Linked DNA regions of Homo sapiens: all the other regions are linked to region 3. The links are contacts of gene promoters, found by promoter capture Hi-C in human tissues and cell types (Jung and others, 2019). All regions are on one chromosome and are shown on one strand. The core of a region is centred on a gene start or on the middle of the fragment in contact, and the rest is flanking DNA. Distances in the headings are between cores, read along the strand shown.

Evidence for each region. The method cuts DNA at HindIII sites, captures the fragments that hold promoters and counts their contacts. A contact is called where the count stands out against the background at its distance.
Region 1: a fragment that was not itself captured here is called in contact with the fragment with the promoter of PIEZO2 in region 3 in 2 of the 25 tissues and cell types used here (aorta and thymus).
Region 2: a contact is called between a fragment that was not itself captured here and the fragment with the promoter of PIEZO2 in region 3, in 6 of the 25 tissues and cell types used here (H1 embryonic stem cells, lymphoblastoid cells, mesenchymal stem cells and 3 more).
Region 4: a fragment that was not itself captured here is called in contact with the fragment with the promoter of PIEZO2 in region 3 in 6 of the 25 tissues and cell types used here (H1 embryonic stem cells, IMR-90 fibroblasts, dorsolateral prefrontal cortex and 3 more).
Region 5: a fragment that was not itself captured here is called in contact with the fragment with the promoter of PIEZO2 in region 3 in 5 of the 25 tissues and cell types used here (H1 embryonic stem cells, IMR-90 fibroblasts, hippocampus and 2 more).

The regions. Positions count from the first base shown.
Region 1 is chr18:11,411,373-11,414,861 of GRCh38, forward strand. The region is part of intron 1 of LOC107985173 (a long non-coding RNA gene); the gene reads right to left. All of the region lies in intron 1 of LOC124904250 (a long non-coding RNA gene), which reads right to left. Among named protein-coding and RNA genes, the nearest start is that of LINC01928, 41 kb to the right of the region's middle. The HindIII fragment of the contact is 6,685 bases long and covers 1-3,489 here.
Region 2 is chr18:10,734,504-10,737,913 of GRCh38, forward strand. PIEZO2 (piezo type mechanosensitive ion channel component 2) reads right to left here. Exons shown (of 56, transcript NM_001378183.1): 34 at 2,101-2,207; 35 at 729-827. Among named protein-coding and RNA genes, the nearest start is that of MIR6788, 23 kb to the right of the region's middle. The HindIII fragment of the contact is 3,671 bases long and covers 1-3,128 here.
Region 3 is chr18:11,147,804-11,151,308 of GRCh38, forward strand. It overlaps PIEZO2 (piezo type mechanosensitive ion channel component 2), which reads right to left and starts at 1,766. Exons shown (of 56, transcript NM_001378183.1): 1 at 722-1,766. The coding sequence starts at 785. LOC124904249 (a long non-coding RNA gene) reads right to left here and starts at 713. Exons shown (of 2, transcript XR_007066288.1): 1 at 1-713. RefSeq lists enhancers at 259-308, 337-1,175 and silencers at 869-938, 949-1,128, 1,149-1,428, 1,669-2,118. The HindIII fragment of the contact is 6,242 bases long and covers 1-3,505 here.
Region 4 is chr18:10,680,877-10,684,257 of GRCh38, forward strand. It overlaps PIEZO2 (piezo type mechanosensitive ion channel component 2), which reads right to left. Exons shown (of 56, transcript NM_001378183.1): 50 at 1,228-1,416; 51 at 785-877. Among named protein-coding and RNA genes, the nearest start is that of LINC01887, 56 kb to the left of the region's middle. The HindIII fragment of the contact is 9,596 bases long and covers 1-3,381 here.
Region 5 is chr18:10,889,701-10,893,143 of GRCh38, forward strand. All of the region lies in intron 4 of PIEZO2 (piezo type mechanosensitive ion channel component 2), which reads right to left. Among named protein-coding and RNA genes, the nearest start is that of MIR6788, 130 kb to the left of the region's middle. The HindIII fragment of the contact is 3,372 bases long and covers 234-3,443 here.

The DNA.
Region 1 (3,489 bases), core at 332-2,831, 260 kb after region 3:
CCTCAGAAATCAGTCATGCAACCACTACATCCAGCTCCATGTTTTCTGAACAAAGAGATTCAGAAATACCAGTCCTTCTTATACTTTTCTATGGTTTATGAAAAGGAAATGGGAAATGTTTATATTGGGCAGCTTCTATGATCACTAAAGAGCAACATCATGAGTGTCAGAGAAAGACAGAGACAGAGAGGTGAATATGTTGGAAAGGCTTGGAACAAATCAGAAAGACGATCTCTGGAGCTGGATGGCTCTGCAGCTGAAGCTTTATACTCTTTGCAAATTTATTTTTTACTATTAAAGGAGAAATTTCCCCCCAATAAATTGCCCAATTCCTTTTGTGATCACTTATGCCATCTTTTGTTTTTAAGAAAATGAAAGCAATGTGCATAATTTAAAAATAAGTAATAAACAAGAGAGTAAAATCTCTAGTGCTCTTTGTTTTCTTTAAAATAGACCACATTTTGCATGACATAAACACACCATCAACCAACCTCTTTACTTTTATGTACATGGGGTCTTTTCTTTGTTCCTAAATTGATTGTTTATTGCTAAAAGTGACAAAGATGGAATTTGAGGATGTGCTTTCCCTTTCTATAAAGAGCATAGATTATGATGAGTGGAAAGAAAATAATTTGTAAATCTGACATCCATAACACTGCAAATTTTAGACAAATATCTGAAATATTCAAATACACAGAAACAAACAGTTGTTGTTGTTGGTGTTTTAAGAAGAACCCCATGAGAACTGCTGCTAGGCTTTCTGTATCTTGACCTTAAGTGTTCTTTCAAGGGCTTTGTTGGGGAGATATTCTGATATGTCACATTTAGAAGTAAGCCTACGTAGAATTGACTTGATGAATCATTGAGGGTAGCTCTCAACCTGAGAGCTCCCTCACCCTTTCCCATCACCCTTTCCAACCTGACTGTTTGCAATTAACGTCTCTTTCCCCAGGTAACTACACATGGTGATTTAGACTACCTGGCCAGCCCATAGAAACCCATTTTACCCAAACTGCCGCTGACATGGTCCTGACCAAGAGCAATGGCTCCTGTAGCTGTGGCTTCAGCAATGTGGGAGCAGCCAGAAAAGCCCACTTGTGCTGTCCAATGACTCATAAATCAAGGATTCATGTACCAGAGACCTGCATGTCCAAGCTGTCTCTTTGTTGACATGCATATTTAGCTGCTGAAAACCCTAAAGTTTTCATAAACACCAAGTTCTCTCAGAACAAGAAGGGTAAAAAAAAAGTCTCAAGGAGAACTAGTATTTTTCTATTATTAGAAATTTTAAAAAAAGAAAAATTGGTTTCAATTCATCATATTCTTAATCACATTATTTAAAAATAAAAGAGCTGTGTTCTGAAAATAATAACCATTAAATAAGTTTGTCAGCTAAATTGTATCTGAACGATAATTGGTCTTTCTAGACCACAGTAACTCAGAGATCTGTGCGTAAACAAAGCTTCCTGAAGTGACAGGAGTATTTGCTGATACCCAACTACCCAGCATGGAAACGTTCTAAAGGCAAATGCGTGCCATGGAAATAGCTGCAAATTGGCACGGGACCTCTCTTGTCAGCCTGCCTGTGCTGTGGTTTTATGATTACTATTGCCTGTATCATCAATTTGTATTTACTATGTTCCACTCTTAAGTGAAAACACAGTTTACTGCATAAACCACAAAAGCCTCTTGTTATTCTTCTCAGTTGGGCATTAATAATGCATCCTGATGTCCTGCTCATAAATGCAAGTGCATTTACAAACTGCACATTAACCACTGAGGCCCCCCCCAGAGCCCGAGGCCCTCTCACAGGCATCAGAGGGAAGAGAGAGGGAGCATCCCCCAGGCCTCAGCCCAGCACCTGCTGCAAGGCCTGCCGACGGCCCAGCCCTTCCTGATTCCTCCATCTGCCTGTGGAGACTTTTCAACTTTGGATCTAATCAGTTTTCCTCTCTCAAGCAAGGAGTAATTGTTTTAATAATTATTTTCAGAATTTGATTGATTGTATTTCTGCCATGGAAAGCCAAGGCCAAGTAAAACACCCCAGGCACATAAAACTTTTTCCTTGGAGCATCCTTTTCACTATTTCAAGACAATCATAATAATTGTCCATGCCCTTTCCCCACAAATAACTGATTCAAAATAATATTCTTTTGCCAGGCTCAACTTAGGTGATTTGAGGAAAAGCGAAGCAGCACCCTCCAGGAGACCCACCCCTGTCTCCCTGTGAGTGCAGTGGATCTGCAAGACCCAAGCTGGACGCTAAGCCACCCAGCACCTCCTGGTGGCATTCCTGCCTGTTTCCACCCTGCCATGCTGTGGCCCTTTGTTCATGAGTGTTACCCTTCCTTCCTCCCTTCCCTTCTCTTCTCCTTCCTCCCTTCCCTTCCCCTTCCTTCCCTTCCTTTCCTGCTTTCCTTCTCTCTCTCTCTCTCCCTCCCTCCCTCTCAGCCTCCCTCCTTCCTTCCCTCCTGTGTCCTGTTGGAATCGAGGGCTTTGGTGTCACGTAGGCTTGGGTTTGAGGCCAGCTCTCTCATTTGCAAGTTACGTGACTGACCCCCCAACAAGTTTATCCAGACTTCCAGCAAGCCTGAAGAAATACCTCCTTTGCAAAATTTCTGTGAAAATTAAATAAAATTGCATGTGTGAAAGTACCTAGCACAGCCTGGCACATAAACACAATCCTTTCCTCCAGCTCCTGCTCACCTCTCTCTCTTCCTGGGTCTAGTTCGCCACTATTCGACTACGCCATCTGACTTGATCTGAGAAGTTTGATGCCAGGTCTCAGTAATATTTAACCATGCAGTGAATTACTATAATTTTATGTTGTTTCACCACCCATTTCTAGGCCTGCCGTAAGTTGTTTGAAATCCAGTCATATCCAGTTATTATATCTTTAGCTTCTTTAAAACTTCCCCTTCCCATGCAATGCAGACAGCTGGTTCCTCATCTCACCAACCCCAGCATCTCTCACAGCCACTGACCACGATGAAACCTGACTAAGCCCAGAGTCAGGTAAGAAAGGTCCCCATCATGTGTGTTTTGTTTAAGCCAGCCAACCACCGCTCCCCAAGGGAAGCCCTGATGGATAACGCCCACCAGCCTCACTAAAGGCCCAGTCCTGCAGGTCCTCTCCCTGTGGGACTTCCCTCCTGCTGGTTGGGCTCCCTACTGTCTGCAGACTTCCTGGCGGCCTGGTGGGCAGCCCACTTGCCACTGGGGTCTCCAGGTAATGACCTGCTTCTGTTTACCAGGTGCTGTGCCATGCTGCCTCCTCTGTGTCTGGCCTGACCCACACACTGGCCTAACGCTGGGAGCCCTCCAGGCCAACTAGAGGAAATTACAGCAGCAACTCTGGTTCTTATGAGGATTGCTTTCTCCACATTAATCCGTAATAACAATAATTATGGCTGGGAGGAGGAGCCACTGGCAGGGTCTGGTGTGGAGGAGGAAGTGGGGTCCCAATCGGGTTCCATGGGTTCTCCCACC
Region 2 (3,410 bases), core at 43-2,542, 410 kb before region 3:
GAGCAAAGCATTTTAGTGGCTGCCCCTGACTGAGTTCAGGAGAAAGGGCTTTCTATAAAATGTAAGAATAGGAATTCATTATTAATGTTTTTCCGTAACGAAGCGACTACAGCATAGGTAGCTGAATAACTTCAACTGTGCATTAGGTTAATCAACAAATAATTTTTGACAGTGTACTCAAAAGCCCTAGCATGGATCTGTGGGATTGAGGAGCCCGCAGACTGCACTGGGTGGATCAGCCCAGGAAGAAGCTGGCTGTACCGAGTGCAGAAACTGGAAGACGGAGACTGAAAGGGACCCGAATGAGAGACGGAGTAAAAGACATCTTTTATTAGCTTATCCAGAATTTTACCAGCTTTCTGAGAAAAATTATCACCCTTTTTACTCATCAGAACTGATTCATGCAACCAGATGTGACCCTTTTAAAATGAGATGTGACTTAGGCAACACCATGAGAAGGACAGCAAGTATATCTGTATCTGCATTTTCTCTTTCTATTTTTCGATAGTTACTGGTGTCCACTTAAGAGCAAGAGTCAAATAATAAGAACTTCGGCTTCTAAGAACTTGTTTTGGAAAACTTTTTCTAATATTTTACGTTCCTGTAATTCCTTCATGGTACCATCTATAGAACCGAGAAAATGCAGAGATAGGGCAATGAAGGTATATTTCTCTACATTTCTACAGAGCAGAGAGTCACACACTACACATCAGTAAAACATCAAATACCTTTGCAGCTCTGATTAAATACTGAAGAATAGTTTTGGGAAGTTTAATGACAGACTTTGGCAAGGCTAAAATGGCTGATGCAAACTTCCCAATAGCTCTCTACAAAGAAGGACAAAGCAAGAGTAATTAGTAGAAAAAACCAAAAACTAGTAATTTAATATATGATGTCAGCATGAATTTGTCTCTACAGTTACACCAACTAGGTTAAAAGATGCCAGTCACTGAAGCTAGAATAAAATGTGCTCTGCTTGTAAGTTAGGAATAAAGAAAATAGTCAATCATTGCATGTAATCCATCCAACATAGTGAAGATGTTCATGTTCTCTCCTTGGCTGCACGATGAGTGGTGGTTAGAAGAAAACTCTTTCGAATAAAAATAAATGAGTTAAGTCATTAGTATTTGATAAGCCAGCTGCAAACATGCACAAAAACCCGGTCATGAAGAAACAGACACAAGAAGCAATGGGGGAAGAAAGAAAGCATCAGACCAAGGTGTCTCTATGGAGAATTCAGTTTTTCTATGTCACTGGGAAACAAGCATGGATGGGCCCCACCCACTTGAGAAGTCCTGGCCAAAAAACTGACGAAGGCCTTATCACGGGCATATCATGTGGCTTGATGGACATCACTCTATGTGCCTCGTAGGAAAACAAATGGGAAATAACAGCCCTAGTGTGTAGTTAATTGATAAAAGAAACACAGACCAATTTTCATCCCATACATGACTCTAATGACAAAGCCTCATCTTTAACAAGCATTGATTCACATTCACTCAATATGCTACATTAGGCTGGTGAGCTATAGCTGAGAATGGGACAGCAGGTTCTAAAACAGAAAGGTAGCTAAGCTGAAAAAACCAGAACTGTGCCACATATTTTTATTACTAGTTCAATATATTCTCAAATCTTTAGCAATACATATGAAACGGTTTTCAAACTCTGAAGCAACATTTAAATGATCATTTGCTCCACAACAAAGCAAGGATTTTGTTTTCATTATCGCCTTACATTGAATGTAAGTCCATTCAAGCAATCCAATGCAATGCCAGAGAAGTCTTTTTCACTTTGCTTGCAAGAAAAACATTGAGTTCACCCAACGAAGCTTTATTTTTTGTTTATAGTATCAGGAACTGTTTCAGTGCCAGTGAATGAAAACCTGGGCTGTACATGGTTCTTGCTTGATACTAATTACGGTGTTGCTGGGAGCAGGCATCATTACAATTTAATTAGAAATAAAGAATTGCAGATGTAAATCAGAAGCTTCGGGGAGCTATGACATATGAATATTACAGGAGGTGTCTAGGCCTGCAATGAAGGTCCGTCAATAAGAAAAGCTCTTCCAACTAGCAAAGAAATGATTTTCCCCATAATTACCTGGAATGCTGACCTTCGTGGAGGTTCTTCATCTTCCTTCTTTAATTCTTCCTCTTCCTCCTCTTCACTATCCGTTTCAAACAAATAATAATCTCCACTCCTGACCACTAAGCAAAACAAAATATTCACTCATTTCTTGAAAGACATATAAGGAAATTGGGGGCTTATTAATGAAATGTCCCCTAAAGATACACAAATTGTCCATAAGAGAACCACAACGAAAGATGTTGGCAGAGAGGAAAACACACAAGATGAAGAGAACTCATCTTCGGCTAATGCTACGCGGTGTTGGCATATTGGGTCTACAGAGTATGAGGCCTTGTCTTTGCCATGTAAGAGAACTGGCCACTACAGGGTGGATCTGGTATGTTCTCCCTTCTTCATTGTAAAATTTACATAGATGAAGCAGATCAACTCTGCAGCAGCCAGTTTTGTTATCTAGATGACCAAAATAACTGAACACTATCATTTCAAAATTCAGCAATTTTGGTCTTCAGACAAGGCCAAAGTGAGGTGGAGGATTAGGCTTTGTCTGAATGGGCCCAAACCGTTGCAGATAAGCCAATCAGGACGATTCAGGACCAAGGTCAGTGTCACCAATCTCCTCCTTCACTTTACACTGTGCAGACCTGACTTCTCCACATGTAACACAAGGGACAAAACATACATGGCAAGACATTTGAAAAAAAAAAAACAAAAAAACACGCACACACTGCCATGAGGATGAAATGGGCAGGTAACATTGAAAACAACACAACACAACAACAACAATGACAGTAACAACAAAAACACCACCAACAACAGCGCTCTGGCTGCTTCCACGTGTCGTAGCCCTAAGACAGACTGAGAATGGCAGACAGGGTCCATAGGGTTTACAACTGCTAGGCTTCTGGTCAACAAGGAACTCCCCAGCAGCTTTCTGAAATTTGAGGAGCACTCTACTGACCACAAGACACAAAGCACAAACAGTATGGATTGTCTTTGCCTTGTCTGATACTTTCCCTGCAAGAACATAATGCCTGTGTCAAGAGTTGGGAGCAGAGAAAACTACAACGTACAGAGATTTAAGGAAATTTAATAAATTAAATCTTTATCAGTTTGATCATTATTTAAAGTCTACCAGAGAAAAGAGGCCCAACATATACATTTCTGATGCTACAAGCAATGTCCCATCATCGCAGGAAAACATATTTTCAAATTATATTCAGGTTTTCAAATGCTCAGGCATCTTTTGGATGACATATTTTGATCTTAAGTTGTCTTTTGGGCCTATACATTGTAAGGTAATGGAAAACCTTGGCTTGTTTAAA
Region 3 (3,505 bases), core at 516-3,015:
GGAGGCTCCCTTGCGGTCCTCCCTGGGCCCTTGCCAGTCCCAAGGAGTTCCAACCCTGCTTTCTAACCCTTTAAAATCTGGAGAGGGCGGCCGCTGGGAGGCGGGACTAGGTGTTGGGGGTCTATAGCCTTAGCATCCAGTACTTTTGTAGTAGGGGCTTTTGTGGAGGTTTTAAAAAATAAGTAAGAAACGTCAAGGCACTGTCTCCCTGTACCTCGTCCCTCTTTTTCTTTTTTGAATGACCGGAGTCCTTCACTTCTTCCTTCACGGTTGCTGGGATTTGGGGTCTGGGAGAGATGGCCTCTGGGCCGTCTGGAGGCACAGCATGCTGTGCTTGCAGGGTCACTGGGGCGAGGGGCTCAGGTAGGAGCCTGACTGTACCTACGATGGGGACGCATCCGCCTTCCAGCCACAGCAATGGCCATCCTTAGTACACAAGTCAGTACTCCACGAAAGAAAATCCACGTGTAACTAAATTCAACATAAACAGTTTCCAGCACATGCCCGTCCCGAGCATCCTGTTAAGAGATACCCCGATCGCGCGCCCCAGAGTGGGAAGTGAGAGAGCCAGGCTGTGCACCAGGGACAGCGCGCGTCTGACGCCGCTGGCCTCCCGAATCGAACCCCAGAGCACCAGAGCCCTTCACTTTGTTAAGAAGTCCCCCACCCAGGCGCCCCCCTCGTCCTCCTCAAGTGCCCTCGGAAAGCGGACCAGACTCACCTACTGCCAGGCAGATGGGCAGCAGCAGCCTGAAGATGAGCCCGCACACCACTTCTGAGGCCATCGCGTCGGTCCGGCGAGTCGGAGCAGAGGGGCGAGGCTCGAGGGTCCCTAGGGGTGGTGGGACGCAAGGCCCATGCCCGTCTATGGCCTCTCGCCGCCGGCAGCTCGCAGCCACCCGAGCATCGCCTCGGCGCGGGCCGCGACGCTCTCCGCCCCGAGGGCACGCTCCCGGGGCTCTTGGCCGCCCCTCGCCCACCGGGCTCTGGGTAGCCCCTCACCAGGCTCTTGGCGGCCACCTAGCCCGGCGCCCGGCCCCCTGCGGCCGGCCCATTTAGTGTGAATCCTGGATCCGGCAGCGGCGGCGGCTTCTTCAGGGGTAGCTGATGCCGGGGCCTTGGAGAGGGACGCTTTGGGAGGGTCCTGGGAGGCGGCGCGGCGAGCAAAGGGGGCAAGAAGGGCGTGCTGTGCTCCCGCCTGGCTCCCGGGGCGTCGTTTGGGGGCGGCCGGGGAGTTTTCTACTTGGAAGCCCCTCTGAAGCCACCGCGTCTCCTTTGCCCGGCCTCGTCTCCGCTGCCCACGCAGGCTGCCGCGCTCTGGCCTCGGCCCCGGCTCTCGGAGCTGCCCGGCGGGCTCCGGGTCTCGCCCTCCAGCCCCCAGGCGGCCCGCGGCGGATCCCCGAGAGGCAGCGCAGCTCAGCCCCTGCGCCCCCCAGCTTCGGGCCGGAGAGACCGGGGTGGGAGCTGCCAGGCGCGCAGAACCATCCCCGCCACCACGGGGCTCGCCTTGTGGGTCCGGTGCGCGGGCGGCGCTGCGAGTCCCTCCCTCACTCGAAGGAACGGCGCGAGCGTGGGGAGAAATGGAGACCAGAGCGCATATCGGGTGAGTGGGTCTCCCACTCCCTCCTCCACCGCCTCAATTTAAAACTCAAGAGAAAAACCAGCGCCGTCCCGTCGCCCAGCGCGACCACCGCCTGCCGCCTTGCAGCCTCGCCCTCGCGGCGCAGCCGGGGCTCCCCGGCGGCGCGCGCTTCTCCACCTTCAATGAAACTTTCGAAGCCCTCACTCGGGGACGGGCGTGTCCCCCGGCCAATGGGATGGCGGCTCCGGGGCCTGCGCGCGCGGAGCCCGCCCCTGAGCGGCTGGGGAAGTGAGAGCCTTGCACCGGCGCGGAGGGCAAGCCCCCACCCGCGGCTCCCGCGCCTGGGAGAGACCCGGCCTGGCCTGCCAGTGGGCTGCGCGCCTTGGCTCGCCCTCCGCGGGCACTCCTGCCCCACTGGCTCCCGCAGCCCCGCGGCTCTGCGTGGTTCTGTCATTCCGGTGGTGCACCCTGGCATCCAGTCCACCCGGCCGGGCCCTGAGCTTGCCCAAACCCAGGGAACCGTTTAAGGTCCGAGGGAAACGCACAGGCCCGGCAGGAGAGAAGCCAGGGGCTTGGAGAGTCCTGTGCGACCCCGACTTCTGCTGGGTCCACAGGTGCACACTGGCATTAAGAAGAATAGAGCTGAATTCATCTACACCGTTGACCCTGCCCATATTTCACATAGCAAGAACTTGCCATTCTGAATAGACTCTGGGAAATCCCGGGTCTTCCCCAACAGATAATGCACCCACTTTGTGCATTTGGGGGAACTCTCCGTTTTCACCTCAGTTTTGCTCCTTGCTTGTCGTGGCTCTGGGGAAAGAGAGCGTTGGCACTGAGAATATTCTCCCTTTCTCCTAGTGCACTGCTTTTTGCCTGTTCTAGGCAAGATCTAGAGAAATCTGGCTCTAGCTGGGAGACTGCAGTGTGCCTGGGTCTTTTATTTAACTGTTATCCGAGAGTGGAGGAGATTTGCTAGAGCACAGTAGGGGTCTTTCCGGACATGGAGGAAGAGGCTGTTAGCATCTGTAGAGAGGACTGTTCAGGACTGGCATTCCATCAGGAGGACACACTGGGAAGGACCTGGCTTCCCTTCCGCACCTACATTCCTGGCTTGCATTAGTTGGAGGGGATAGAGCAGTGAGCTGATGAAAAACAGGCAAACCCCCGTCTTTTTAGCCATTTGAAACGCTTTTGTGGACATCCCTTTTTTGAGACAGGGTAAGCTTGTGGTTTGAGCTCAGGTGCCTTCACGAATTCTCTGAGAATTACAGAAAAACTATGAACCATTGCTTTTTGAATGAAGACTCAAGACAGTTGGCATATGGTGAAGACACCCTGAAACTTAAACCACCCATGTGCTCTGCCATCCTCAAGAAGCTTAGATAGCACCTAAACCCGGGCGTAGTCATGAGCTCAACAGCAGACCTACAGGAGACGATAGAACTTAAATTAGCATCCAGTCACCAAGAAATGCTATCAAGAAATGGTTTGTGTAGCCTGTTTGTAGAAGCCTGATATAAATCTACCACTAATTTTGATGTTCATAAGTCTGCCTTCACATCCATGCCCTCCCCACCTCACCCCATGTACGACTCATTCTTGGGAGCTAATAGGTGAAGGACTCCTGAATTTTAAATAATACTGTGTCATCACATGAATTCTGTATTCTCTGAATACTTTCTTATGTTCTTGATAGGCTTCCCATACTAACAACTGTCTAGACTTTTTCACAATAATTCTCTTTCAAAATAACATAAGCTGGGAGGCACAAGATTCCCAGCAGGTGGGTGGTCTTACCAAATAAACTTCGAGCTTTCTCTGCCACAGTGTGTACCAACTTGGCTGCTGGGGCGTTAGAGATTTTAACAACTACATCCCAGTTCTGAGACTTCCAACGTATGTACTCAAGGGGAAGTTTCA
Region 4 (3,381 bases), core at 536-3,035, 470 kb before region 3:
AAGACAAATTTTAATGATGAGGATTATGTTATATTATTAACAGTGTGGAATATAGACAAGAGAATAACATCAGCCACCCTTCTGCTACCAGAACATAATTGTTGTTTTAAGTTTTAGGGGATGTATTTCTTATTTTTTGTAATTTTAAAAATAATAGCCTTTTTAAAATTTATGTTTTAGTTTGAGAAATTGTCATGTCATTTATAGTCTCTGTAATGAATTTTTTAATTACAAAATAAGTTGCTTAGAAAATCTTTGGACAACATGGCACGTAAATAAAATGAAAAGTAGAAGCTCCTTCTCCTATTATGACCACTCTAGAGTATCTTGCCAATCAAATTCATGTAATACATCTGCCTTAATTTCCTCAACCAGCTCCTGTTTGCTGAACCGCAAATTGCCTCTAGTTCTGCTAATGCAGAGAATGCACTCATAAGCCAGTGCCTAGATAGAGCGTTCTCATATTTTGAATTACTTCTTAGGACAGATTCCCAGAGTAGGCCTACTAGTCAAGAGATGAATATATACCACAATTTAAAAAGTTAAACAATTTTTAAAATGGATCAATATTTAAATGTTTATTACCACTAATGTCCAACAACATAGACATAACTTCTTAGATTATCAAAGTAGCCAGTGGCCAGGAATGTGCTCTATGTAACTGATAAACCCTGAAAAGTCCTCCTTCCCACCACCTCAGGCCATGGCAAAGCATTAAATGACAATGAGTGAACTTCCCTAGATGAGAGGTCTTCACAGAAATCTACTATAGGGATTTACTTACGGTGTCCCTAGAAAAAGCTTGTATAAATTTGTTAAAGCTCTGCTGGTCCATAACTTTCAACTGGCTTTGTTGGGCACTCATTGTGAAAATAGGCTGGAAAACAAAGAGAACAGTGTTGTCAATATTCCCCAGCTCTTCTCTGCATCCTGAGTCAAAAGAAAAACATTTATGTAGGATATCAGCCCATTTATGTAGGCTATGTTTATCCCATGATACATGGCATCCGAGATCTCTTTTTGGAGTGATTATTCCCGTGCTCAAGACCAAAGGGAAACTAGTCTCTCAGTGTCTTCTGCACCTTATTCATACATCAAGTATTTGCTGAGCAGTCAAATGCCGACAGCAGGGTCGGCAGCCCATGACTAAACACCCTACAGACAGCTATCATAAAGGAATGTGGCGTGGGGCAAGGCTCTGGTAGGTGGGGTGTGCACAGAGATCACCTGATACCCTCCCAGGGTAATTGTGACGGAGACGTCCAGGGGCTGGTTGATGACCCCAGCCACAGATTTGATCAAAGACATGAAGAGAAGAGGAAACCAGACAATGCAGATGAGCAGGACGATGATCATTCCTCCCATGCCATACTTCACCACTTTCTTCTTCTTCTGGCCCCGTGGCTGAGGGTATCTCTGCAACAGAGAGTTCAGACAAGGCTCAGGCTCAGGCTCAGGTGCTTTCCCGCAGGCAGCGGGATTGGGGGAGAGCGAGTGCTCTTCCTGTGGTGCTGGGAACATGGATTTGGCCCTGAATCTTCTCTGTTCGCTCTGAAATGGGGATAGCAACCTTGTCCCAATCTCGAAATGAAGTTAGGTAGTGATGTGAAGCTGTCCTGAGGTCGCTCCAGTACCCCCTGGTGGATCCACAGGGGCCAACAGGACTTAAGCGGCCTTCTCCCTTCAAGACTGTGGGTGGGTTTTCCTGGTGATGAACTCCTGGACCAAGGGATCAAGTATCCGGCCGAATGAACCTTCTGGTTTTAAGGGATTATGTGAGAGAAAGATACTTTACTTTCAATTCCTGAATATTTAAAATCTGTGCCTTTCAGTTGACCCTTCCCTGCCCTTGGAGGGTGAAAAAACATGATTTTTAATTTAATTCATGACACGTGTTGTTAAAGACAATGTTGTTCGACACCTAAGGTAAGATTTGTATGATTAGAAGAGCCCCCTCTGGGCACTGGCTGTAGGGAGTGGGGAGAGGGCAGGTGCGTGTTGCAGGGGCTCACTCTCCTACAGGAGCCTGTGCACCAGTAAGGCTGGGAGCACTTCTGTTTGCTTTAATATAGATTCATGAAGGACCCACTAAGCCCCCTGCTTAAAGACTATGGACAAGTGGAAATTGGAGCTGTGCTGTCTGGCATTGAACCTGCTTCTGATCTACATGTGTGTTCTTTCTTCAGTGTTGCTGCTCCATGACCTCCATCCTTTCAGGGTTACCCCTCAGGCCAAGCTACATGCAGAACATGGGGTCAACCCCACTCCCCGACTTGGCAATGTGATTTATCTTCAGGAGGGATCCATTCATTTCAGCAGATTAAAGTAAGGAAAAATAATCTAACATTTACCCATAGGCACTAGCCATAGATTACACACCAGGAGAGAGACCTGGGAGTCAGTACAGGACATGACTACAGTGGCTTTTACAAGCCTGGACACTAAGTGCCAAAGATGGTGCCGGAAATATGAGAATGGAGGCTTGACTGGGTGGTGGGCCAGGGCCAGTGCGTAGTGCACTCTGCATTCAGTGTGCATAAGGCAATGCACCCTATGGATCTGCACTATGGAGACTGCATGAAGTTCAGATGGTAGCAGTGCATTTTGATATTTTTGCACTGGCATTTGATACTGTTGACTATTTTCAACAGCATCAAATATGGATAGCAGTAGCAGTGTATTTTGATTTTCTTCCCGATTTTCTATATTGAAAGGAAGACTAGGGTCCCATATTTTAAAATCTGAAATATATATTCACAAATATATATACACACATACATGCTTCCACACATAGATATGCAAACAAGTGTATAGATTTGCTCTTTCATTATTTTCTCAGTGAGGCAAATTTAGATCATAGGCCACTCCTGTCACTCCAACAGCACCCACACTGGATCATGAAAGTTTTGCAAGTTAAAGAAGATTAATGTATCTCTGCCAAGGGCGGTTTTAGTCTGTTCCACCTGAAGTGGGACCACATTGGTTCCTCTCCTGAAGGCCAGTCTCTTTGAGGTTCATCTCAAAAATTCCCAGAGGCTTCTCCCTCCTTCTGCTCAGCCCTCACACTGCCTTTCCAGGGGACAACAGGGGAAAGGCCTCTTAATCCATCTCAAATTACGCAGCCAATTTTCCCCTCCTCTCGAAATTTTCTCCCTTCCTTCCTTCCTCCTACCCTCCCTCCCTCCCTTCCTTCCTTCCTTTTTCCTTCCTTCCTTCCTTCTTTCTCTCTCTCTTTCTTTCTTTCTTTCTCTCTCTCTCTTTCTTTCTCTGTCTTTCCTCTTTTTTTTTTTTTTTTTTTTTTTTTTTTGAGACGGAGTCTTGCTCTGTCGCCCAGGCTGGAGTGCAGTGGCGCGATCTTGGCTCACTGCAAGCTCCACCTCC
Region 5 (3,443 bases), core at 670-3,169, 260 kb before region 3:
CTGAAGCTCTTTACACAGTGGATGACAGACTAACAAGGAGGTGTCAGGTAGGGTCCCTCATCCTCATTCTCCTCCCTAAGAGCTGCCCAGGGGACCACAGCAGCCCCAGGTCCACTGCCAGATGCTTGGCTGCCACCCCGTGGATGTGTTAGCCACATAGAAGAAAGAGCTCCCAAGGACCTTTCCAGGGGCTCCCCATCGGGGTCCCACTTTAACTGCTGACGTCTCAGGTTGACTGGTTAGTCACCATGTCTCTGTCTTTCCTCTTGGACCTTGGCTCCCCCAGCACTGTCCATAATTATACACAGCCTAATTCCTGAGATAAATTCTTTATCCCATAACAGAGCAAATCTGCTCCCCCATCAAACTCCAACTGACCAGCTCCTACTGTGATGCTTTAATTGGCTAGCAAAGCTCTTGTGAAGTACTGCAAAATGGAAAGCCAGTAAAATCTTGTGTGTTTAAACTACAGCCCATACAGGGGAAGCCAGTGATTTACTCCTATTTAGTGAGGACACAGTCTCAGGGTCTCCATTTGCTTGAACTAAAGTGTGAGGATTATGAATGTAATCCACAGTACACATTTCTAAGGCAGAGCAGGCCTCATTTGTCAATGTGGCTGAGTCTGCAAGTGCCATGAAATATAGCATTTGCCATTTTTTTCAGGGAACAGCTTAGAGTAAGCAGCTATAACAAGAATGTATTAGTCTGTTCTCACGCTGCTAATAAAGACATACCCAATACTGGGTTTATAAAGGAAAGAGGTTTAATTTACTTACAGTTCAGCATGGCTGGGGAGGCCTCAGGAAACTTAAAATCATGGCAGAAGAAGAAGCAAACACATCCTTCTTCACATGGAGGCAGCAAGAGACGTGCAGTGTGAAGTGGGGGAAAATCCCCTTAGAAAACCATCAGATCTCATGAGAACTCACTCGTTATCACGAGAACAGCATGGAGGTAACTGCCCCAATGATTCAATTACCTCCCACCAGGTTCTTCCCATGACACATGGGGATTATGGGAACTACGGCTCAAGATGAGATCTGGGTGGTGACACAGCCAAATCATATCAAGGAATAAACTTCTAATTCGCTTCTGAGCTTACCATCCCTCCTGCTGAGCACTGGTGTTTAGCCTGGTGTTTTTCCAAATGCAGGTCATGAATAATTAGCATATTATAAAATAAACTTAGTGGGAATCAACCAGTACTTTATTTTTTCTGTAATATAATAGAACAAAGGAAATAAAAAATATATCGAATCTCCTTGCAAGTGGTAAGAGTAACTTTTTTTTTCCTTTGAAAGTTTGAAATCACGTGTTGTACCAGATCAAAACAGAAAGTGCATTGCTGGCTGGAAGCGGTGGCTCACGCCTATAATCCCAATACTTTGGGAGGCCGAGGCAGGTGGATTACTTAAGGCCAGGAGTTCGAGAGCAACATGGTGAAACCCTGTCTCTATTAAAAATACAAAAATTAGCTGGGTGTGGTGGTGCGCACCTGTAATCCCAGCTACTTGGGAGACTGAGGCAGGAGAATCACTTGAACCCGGGAGGCAGAGGTTGCAGTGAGCGAGATTGCGCTACTGCACTCCAGCCTGGGAGACAGACTGAGACTCTGTTAAAAAAAAATAAAAGAAAGTGCATTGCTTCCTGCGGTCACAGTAAAAAGTTTGACTACCATCATCAAACAAGTAAGGCAGTTGTGTAGGGAACAGATGAAGACAGTACAAATCCTCTTTCCAAATCTCTTGGAGCCAAATGTACTTCAAAATTCATCCTTTTCCAGAATGCAGAAAGACACATGTTACATACATGATGTACCGCTTGATGCAGACACTAGGCATTGGCCCTGTTCAAACACACACATGAGGACAATTCGCACTCACAGGAATGGTCTCCCTTCAGCTACCAGGTGACTTCAGGTCAGGTTTTGCCATCACAAAACTAGGCTAAAATGTTTTCAGAGCATTGCAATTTTGAGACTGCAGGTGAGGGATCTCAAAGGCTGTACTCAAATCTATTATAACAAGCTAAAAGTAATTAGCTATAAAAAATTCCAAATTTTTCAGAAATAAAATAGTAATCAAATGAGTGATAAATAGCTCTGAGTTTTTAACTGTCAAAAGGTAAAGCTTCTGTTAAGCAAATAAAATAAATGAAAATATAAATTTGTAAAGCACATAAAATAGAGTGGTAGACATACTACAAATAGAATCACCCAAGAATATCTTTAAATATGTTTCTTCATGCAGTTCAAGTGTGCTTTAATTTTCAGAAATGGGTCCGGTAAACATTTAGGGTAATGCAGGATTGATAGGCAGTCAGACTGAAGATAGAACAGCCAATTAAGAGACTCCTAGAGTGAAAGAAAAATATGATGTCCACACAACCACCTGCCTGCAAACATTCATAGCAGCTCTACTCATAATTGCCCAAAACTGAAAACAACCCAATTATCGACCAACCAATCAGCAGATAACTGATTATATAATGTCTATATAATGGAATACCATTAGCAATAAAAGGGAATTATCACAATGTACCCCATAAATATGTACAATTATTATGTATTATTTATAAATAAAAATTAATTAATTAAACAGGAATCAAGTATGGATACTTGTGACTCTATGGATAAATCTAAAAGGTTTATTCCATGTGAAAAAAGCCAGACACAAAAGGCCATAGACTCCATGATTCCATTCACATGACAATCCAGAAAAGGTAAAGCCAGAGAAAGAAAAATCAGATCAGTGGTTGCCACGGGCTGGGGGAAGAGGTGGGAGGTTGACTGCCGAGGGCAGGAGACTCTTTTTGGGGATAATGAAGATAACACACATCCTGACTATGGTGGTGGTTAAATGATTGTGTATATTTTCAAATTCATAGAACTACTCACCTAAAATGGGTAGAATTTTAGGAATGTAAATTGCACCTCAATGAACCAGAGAGAGGGAGAGAGAAAGATGGGGAGAGGGGCGGGGGTGAGGGAAGCACAGAAGCAATTTAGCATGAAACAATAAAGACCGCAAGTGTGGTGAGTAGGAATAGAGAGGAAAAGCAAAATCTGAGAAAACATAAAAATGTAAATGAAGAAATCACCACCAAAATCTAACAAGTACTTCATACAAATGAAATATTTTAAACAAGCTACATCTGTAAATATGTAGCTGTTGAAAATAACAGAAATTGTACTAAATGGTAGGCATTGTTTTCTGACATCTCAACATTCAGAAAGAAATATGGTCAGTAAAGGTCCTTGAGCCCTTTTCTGCAGTATTTCAACAGAGCTGCTTCAGTGGTTTCTCCCTGGGGATTTCCCTAATAGAAAATTTATGGCCAGGATAAAATTAACAATGCTGGATTCAGAGGAAACTGTTTCTACTGCGAATCCCTTTGCTTAAAATTCTGGGAAATTATGTTTTAGTAGTTCAAGACCTATT